2 separate regions of the Homo sapiens genome follow, and region 1 is linked to region 2. The links are contacts of gene promoters, found by promoter capture Hi-C in blood cells and fetal thymus (Javierre and others, 2016). All regions are on one chromosome and are shown on one strand. Each heading gives the region's core, a stretch centred on a gene start or on the middle of the fragment in contact. The rest is flanking DNA. Distances are from core to core; before and after follow the strand shown. Region 1 overlaps GABRA5 (gamma-aminobutyric acid type A receptor subunit alpha5). Region 2 holds the start of MKRN3 (makorin ring finger protein 3).

What was found. Contacts are between HindIII fragments. The CHiCAGO score rates a contact against its expected background, and 5 or more counts as called.
Region 1: a fragment that was not itself captured here is called in contact with the fragment with the promoter of MKRN3 in region 2 in 1 of 17 cell types (endothelial precursors); the score reaches 7.9 in endothelial precursors.

What each region holds. Positions count from the first base shown.
Region 1 is chr15:26,879,020-26,882,476 of GRCh38, reverse strand. It overlaps GABRA5 (gamma-aminobutyric acid type A receptor subunit alpha5), which reads right to left. Exons shown (of 11, transcript NM_000810.4): 4 at 1,510-1,631. Among named protein-coding and RNA genes, the nearest start is that of GABRA5, 14 kb to the right of the region's middle. The HindIII fragment of the contact is 186 bases long and covers 1,448-1,633 here.
Region 2 is chr15:23,563,717-23,567,143 of GRCh38, reverse strand. It overlaps MKRN3 (makorin ring finger protein 3), which reads right to left and starts at 1,470. Exons shown (of 1, transcript NM_005664.4): 1 at 1-1,470. The coding sequence starts at 1,361. The HindIII fragment of the contact is 4,614 bases long and covers 1-1,929 here.

The DNA.
Region 1 (3,457 bases), core at 291-2,790, 3.3 Mb before region 2:
TCATGAGTAGGAAGCAATTCAAAGTGCACTGCAGCCCACACCGGGTAACTTCCAGCCGCACTGTGGGCCTGCCTCTCCAGCAGCTCGCGGTGTGATGATCGTCTGCATGGCGTGCATCTGTGCGTGGGCAGGTGTCTGTGTGATGCTGTGTGTTGTATGATGCAGTGTGCCTGTCTCCTCACTGAGATGCCAGCCCCAGCAGGGTGGCCCGGGAGGCTTTCCATGGTATCCTCCTACTCTGTAGGACTGGAAGGCAGAGAGGATGAGAGAATACCACAAGCACTGACAGCAGCTTAGGGCTCCTCTAGATGCTCTGACCCTTCTGAGTGTGTTCAAGGGACTGGACTGCTGGGCACACAGGCCTAGGAACATAATTCAGAGGGCAGAGTAAGAGACTGTTAAGGAGCCTGTGCCCAAAAGGCAGAGAGTGGCAACTCATGCTTTAAGTGGATCTCCCTGTTAAAAATGCAAATACTAGGCGGGGCACTGTGGCTCACACCTGTAATCCCAGCACTTTGGGAGGCCGAGGTGGGTGGATCGCCTGCGGTCTGGAGTTTAAGACCAGCCTGGCCAACATGGTGAAACCCCATCTCTACTAAAAACACAAAAATTAGCTGGGCATGGTGGTGTGCACCTGTAATCCCAGCTACTCCGGAGGCTGAGGCAGGAGAATCACTTAAACCTGGGAGGCAGAGGTTGCAGTGAGCCGAGATCATGCCATTGCACTCCTGCCTGGGCAACAGGAGCGAAACTCCATCTCAAATAAAAAAAAAATGCAAACACTAGACAACTAAATTTTTTCCTCCAAGAATGTATTCACTGGAAAGTGTCTACCTCACCTAACCCAACAAGTTCAGACTCCACATCTAAACTGTAGAGCCAAGGGGATTGCACATGCCTGGAAACTGCACACAATTCTTAGCACAACAATGAAGCTGTGCCAGGTGTGCCCTACAAGAACAATCTACATCAGTTCATTTTTATTGAATTCCACAAAGTCAAAGTAAATACTAGGACTATGGCCATAGTGAAGCACTAAATGCATAACCCATAAAGATATAAAGGATGACTGCATTCCACAGTGGATTTCTGAAAAGGACTCGCATAGATACAAGACTATGAGGTTGATTTTATATTATTTCTTAACATAGGGTAATCTCAGCTTTAGTAACGCCTAAAAGCTGGTTCCTCCTTAAGTTAACCAGACTAGACATTAAGATTATCTGGGAAGAGGGGATTTTGCAAAGATGTTTGGGAAGACCACTTCCCCCAGCTTCTTCCACCTAGAAATAACAAAGGATCTTGCGTCTAGAAAATAACAAAGGATCTTGCGTCTAGACAATAACAAAGGGTGCATGATTCTTGGCAAGAGTGGAACAGCCATCATACCAAAATCCTGGCAGGGAAGCTCTTTTAGGAATTGTTTGAATCAGCGCAAACACAAGCTTGAGACGAGACTTAAGCCCTTCCTGGATCCTTGCTGGGCTCAGCTGAGGAGAGCACACTCACCTCCCAGCCCGGGCCGAAGTCTGTTGTCGTAGCCATCCAAGAGCCCATCCAAGATCCTGGTAAATATCGTGATGTTGTCATTGGTCTCATCTTTCACTGAACTGGTTGGCATCTGTGAAAAGCTTTTAAAAAGAGAAACAAGAGGAAGCGTTAAAACATATTATTTCTTACAAATTCTTCTCAAGATACAGAAACCAGGGAGTCACGTGGAGGCTTGTCTCCTGAGACGAGGATCTGAGAACACAGCTCCCATAGTGCCTAGGGGATTGTTTGGCCTTGATACACCTCAGTTCTCCAACATCCAAGGATACTCTGCTTGGGGCTAGTTATCCAACCACCTAACCTGAGGCTCAAAGTCTATCATTCTGTGATTCTAAGGAATTGGTTTATGTCAATATTTTAGCCATTTTTAACAACCAATTAGCCATTGCGCATGGACTGGCAGAGCCTAATCCACTCACAGGGGATTTCAGAAGTTTGGTTTAAACACACAAAAACCGAGTTCTCATATTGCTAGAGTCACCTGCACTGGGCGCTGGGGCATGGAGGGGACGCTGAGAAACTTTCCGAGGTTGTTGTTCCCAAACCTCACTGCATCCTTAGTTGGTCTGGGAGCATTTGTGCTGTGAATAATATGCCAGGATTGGAGAGTGAGTGACAGACATGATGGAGTCTGTGTCATCTCTGGGGTCCTGCCCCTTCAGTGTGCCAGCTCACAACACATTCTGTGGGACCCAGCGTCACACAATAAGCCCTCAAGAAAAGTGGGCTGACCCTCAGGGAAGACACAAGAACATTTTTTGTTTGTTCAATCAAGTTATCCAGATTCCAAAAGCTTATGTAATATGAGCAGAACAAAACTAGAAACTGCCCTAGCAGATCTAGACAAACTGAGGATGGTATCTGGGGGGACAGAGAGACCACAAGCCCAGAAGACAGCCCCACAGCTGAAGAGCATGGATCCCACCTCAGGTTTCTACAGCTGCTTTCAGATGTGCAAATAGCAACTGGTTTTGAATTACTGAGCACTTGACTGCAAATTTGGCTTCAAGGGGACTTACCAAACTGAAAGCCAGCTGTGGTTCCCAAGAAGCGAGTGCCCTGGGCACTTGGGAGAAGAACATGTGATTCCTGGTACTTCCCTGAAGTGCCCAGCTGTGGGGCCCTAGCTGTGCTTAAAGTGCTTTCTCTCCCATGAAAAGGCTGAAATCAGAGCTGAGAGCCACCAGCCATGGAGAGATGCTGAGGTCAGAATCGATGCAGGCCTGCTCCACCCTGTTCTTAAAAGTCAGTCATTTTTATTGATTGCATCTAACAGATCAATTCTTTGCTGGCCCTAAAGCTATTCCCTTTTGAATAGAATGAGAGAATAAAGAATAAAGGAATAATGCTCTTTTGATCTAAGTTTCACATCACCATAAAAATGCATATACTTGAAGCTCTAACAAGCTAAAATTCACTCCTGTTAGTACGGAGCCCACAGATGTATACTTTTTTAACTCTGTGATTTCATATTTAAAAACATTAAATTCCCCTTTCTCCAACATCCATGGTAGTTGCACACTTCGGAAAGACATAGCACTAAGCCTAGCATAGCTCCTCCCAGTGAACAGCCTTCTTCTTCAGAGTTTTGCAGGGGGAAAAAAGAAGGTTATATTTTGTACCTGCCCAGTTGTGTAACTATTGGTCAAACCAGATCTGGCTTCATGATGCACTTCTCATGGACTTCATAATTGTCACCGAGTTTGCAACTCAATTTTAGACCACGTCCAGGTGCTCAGTTTTTGGAAGGTCTTTGCTGTCTCTTTATCTTACCAATTGAGGTACTAGTAGAAAAAGCAGATCTTAATGGTGAAATTAAAGTTTTCTAAGCTACTCCATTCTCTGTTGTGAAAATGTTCCTAAATTGTGTTAGATGGTAACAGCCCTGGCTGTCCAGAGACAAGGG
Region 2 (3,427 bases), core at 221-2,720:
CCCTCTCCCATTCGCACAGGCTCCACAAGTTGATGCCAGTATGCGCTGAATGACCCACCACCTGGCCCAGGAGGCTCATCTCCCCAGCCCTCAGGGTATTCATGCTTGTAAAAGCATGTGTCTCCAAATGGGCAGTTACCCCTGCCTTCCGCAAAATACCTGCAGGCCTTGTTGCTCATTGCCTCCTTGTATTGCTGAATAAGTTTCTGCTTCTCTTCCTCCTCCTCCACCCAGAACTCACTGGGAATGACCAATTCAGAGGTGACCCTGCACTGTGGGCAAGACTTGACGATCCTGTTCTCAAACTGTCTGGCACTTCTCCACCTGCGGATACACCTAATACAGAAGGAATGGTTGCAATTGGAAAGAATGCCAAAGCGGCGGTCATTGGGGTTGGCCTTCTCATAGACAACCTCCATGCAGATGCCACACACCTTGTCCATACCACGCTGCACAGCAAACGAGAGTTCCATATCTTTCTCGTGTGCTTCAATGCAGGCCCTCATATGTTCTTCCCTCTGGGCAGCATCCATGGGGTGCAAGGTCTGCAGCCCACACATGTCGCATATGTCTCCATGGAGGTACATACAGCTCTCCCCACGAAAGCAAACTCCCCTGGAAGCATAATAGCAAAACCGCAACCCACTGCCCACAGCCATCTGCTTCCTCTCAGTCTCTGAGCTCTGTAGAGGAGCCTCGGGGGCAGATGCAACCCAGCGGCCCCGGTAGGGCTGCCCTGGAACAAACTCAATGGCATCCGCCCAGCTTTCTACACCTGCTCCTCCAGCAGCTCCACGGTCTGCATTGTCTCTCTCGGCTTCAAAGAAACCCCTTTCAGCAGCCGAGCCAATCACAGGCAAGGAAAGGGAGGATGCAGCCGGGGGGGCTTCCGCCACTTCCTGAGTCGGGGGCTCGATGTGCGCAGCCGTGCTAGGGCCTCCACCTGCAGAGGCCCCAGGCGGCGAAACGCCACCCTCAGTGGCCATCTTCCGACCAGAAAGGTCGTGCGAATAGCGACAGTTCTCCCCCTCCTTGCACTGCCCATGTATATAATACCTGCAGATGATCTGCTTTGTCCAAATGCCGCTGCTTCGGCTTGGCAACGGACTGGGCCAGGCTCCTCCTCCTGAGGCTGGGGCAGGCCTCAGGCCTCCTCTGCGGAGGTGGGCAGGGACTGGAGCTACAGGGAAGGGGGCCCAGCCCCTTGCCGCATGTGGCAGGGCTGAATCTGGAGCAGCAGATTCCCCGGAGGGCTCACAGACGGGAAGGTCCGGCCCAGACACACCCTCCCTTGCTGCCTCAGCACCTGCCTGGGCCCCGGCTGCCTCGTGGGCTTCTGAGGGAGCTGCAGGCTCTTCCATGGCTGCTTTGGCACCCCGAAATGGTGCCAGAACCTCTCCGGTATTTTTTCTTTATGGGCTTGAGGCCCGGAATGGCGGCCGCGCTCGGAGGCTTCTCTGGGGGAAGTGTGCATCTCTTTTTCCTTCCCCCCTGCTTTTGGGTCCCTCTGACTGTGTGTTCCTACCTACTTCCGGGCACAGGCAGCATGGCGGACACTTCCTGTGGGGGCAACGTACGTGCTCTGCCTGGTTTTTACCGCAATTTTCCAATCTGACATATTTTTTCGTTCACACAGGCGGGGACCAACCCAGCCCCTTTTGTCTGCCTTCTGCCTCTGCTTCGCTGTGTTCCGGCAGTCCCTAAGTCCCTTCTCACACGATTTCCTCAGGAGAATGAGGTTTTACTTTAATCTCTTCTGGTTTCGGTCATGCACGCTTCGTTGTATTTTCGTATCTGTCTGCCTTAAAAAAAATATAATCCTATAGATTCTGAAACATTTCATCCATGAATTATATAAATTCTTTTTTTATTCACTCCATCTTATGTCTGTGGTTTTTTTCTTTTAATGCCCGATCGCGGCAGGAAGCTTTTTTCAATTCGTTCGGTTGACAAGGCGCCGTTTCTTTTGGTCTTTGTTTTCTGGGATTTCTGAGGGCTTACACTGGATACGCTTTTCACCAGCAAGGCATTAGCAGAGAGCACTTCTGATCCGAGGCTAAGTTAGCACCTTTCAGATGTCTTTCTTTATTGTGATTACTATGCTCATTTTCCCACTGTGTTAGAAGCGCCAGACTTCAACCAGTCCTGATGCTGGCCTAATAAGACACTGTCCCCTGCATGACCCAGGCTTTTATTTTCTCTACTGGTTTAATTCATGGCAGCCCTTTGTTTCCCTTCCTTTCTTTCAACCCCATCTGTGCTGTGTTGTGGCAGGACAGCCTTTCATAACATATCCTGTGCCATATTATCCACAAAGGAATGGTCTTTAATTTCCATGTATGAGCGTTTTGTCATTTTTGCAGATAAATGTAGTAGATTAATCATTTTTTTGTATTCCTACTTTGCTGAGAGTACGTATCATGACTGCATACTGAATTCTGTTATGTAGTTTTATACATTTTTTGAGACAATTTTGTTTTTCCCTTTATTCTCTTAATGTGATTATTTGCAGCTATGAGTTTCAAATATTTAACTAACCAATTTGTTTCTAATAAGAAGCCCTTCTGTCATGATATATCATTTTATATATTATTGGATTTTTTTTCTATAAGTTTCTTTGAGGAAATTTTGTTGCCTAAATCTGTAAAGTGGAAACATATCTGAATATTTATAATCACCCAAGTCAACAAATTAAATTATAATTAAGTAGGTAAAAGCAATGAAAGCAGAATGAAGCAAATAATAAGGGCAAGAAAAGCAATGAAGAAAAACAAATATTAAATAAGGGAAATAAATTAAGTAAAATCCCTTAAACTGCTTATTGAAGCCAGATAATTTCTGGTGAAATTTATCAAGGAAAAATGAAGAAGGCTCTAATACCCAAGATCAGTAATTTCAAATATGTTATCACTACATTAATAACAGACATTAAAAATCATTAGAGAATATCAGGAACAAAGTTAGGAGATAAAACTTGAAAAGTTACATGAAATAGTCATATTGGTGGAAACATCTATTAGTAAAAATGACAGGAGCAGAAATACATGTGAATATGGATCTGTTAAATTACATCTGTAATTTAGATAATTATCTAAATAAAGGTCTCTAAAACTTTCTCTCTGAAATAAATCTAAAGGCAAAAAAAATCTGTATTTATTATTGCAAGTCCTAGCTAGTGTAATAGCAAAGAAATAAAAGATGTTATAACTGGAAAGAAATTATTGATGGAATGCAACAGAAAATTGAGAATAATTTACAGATAAGCTATTAGATTTAATAGGTACATTTAGCAAGGACACTGGACAGGAGTCCAATATATGAAAATCATTTTTATTTCTCTATCATCAATAACATTTGAAGTAAACATTTAAAATTAATAACATTCATAACAACATTAAAAGTTAGCTAACCTAGGAATTAAACTAAT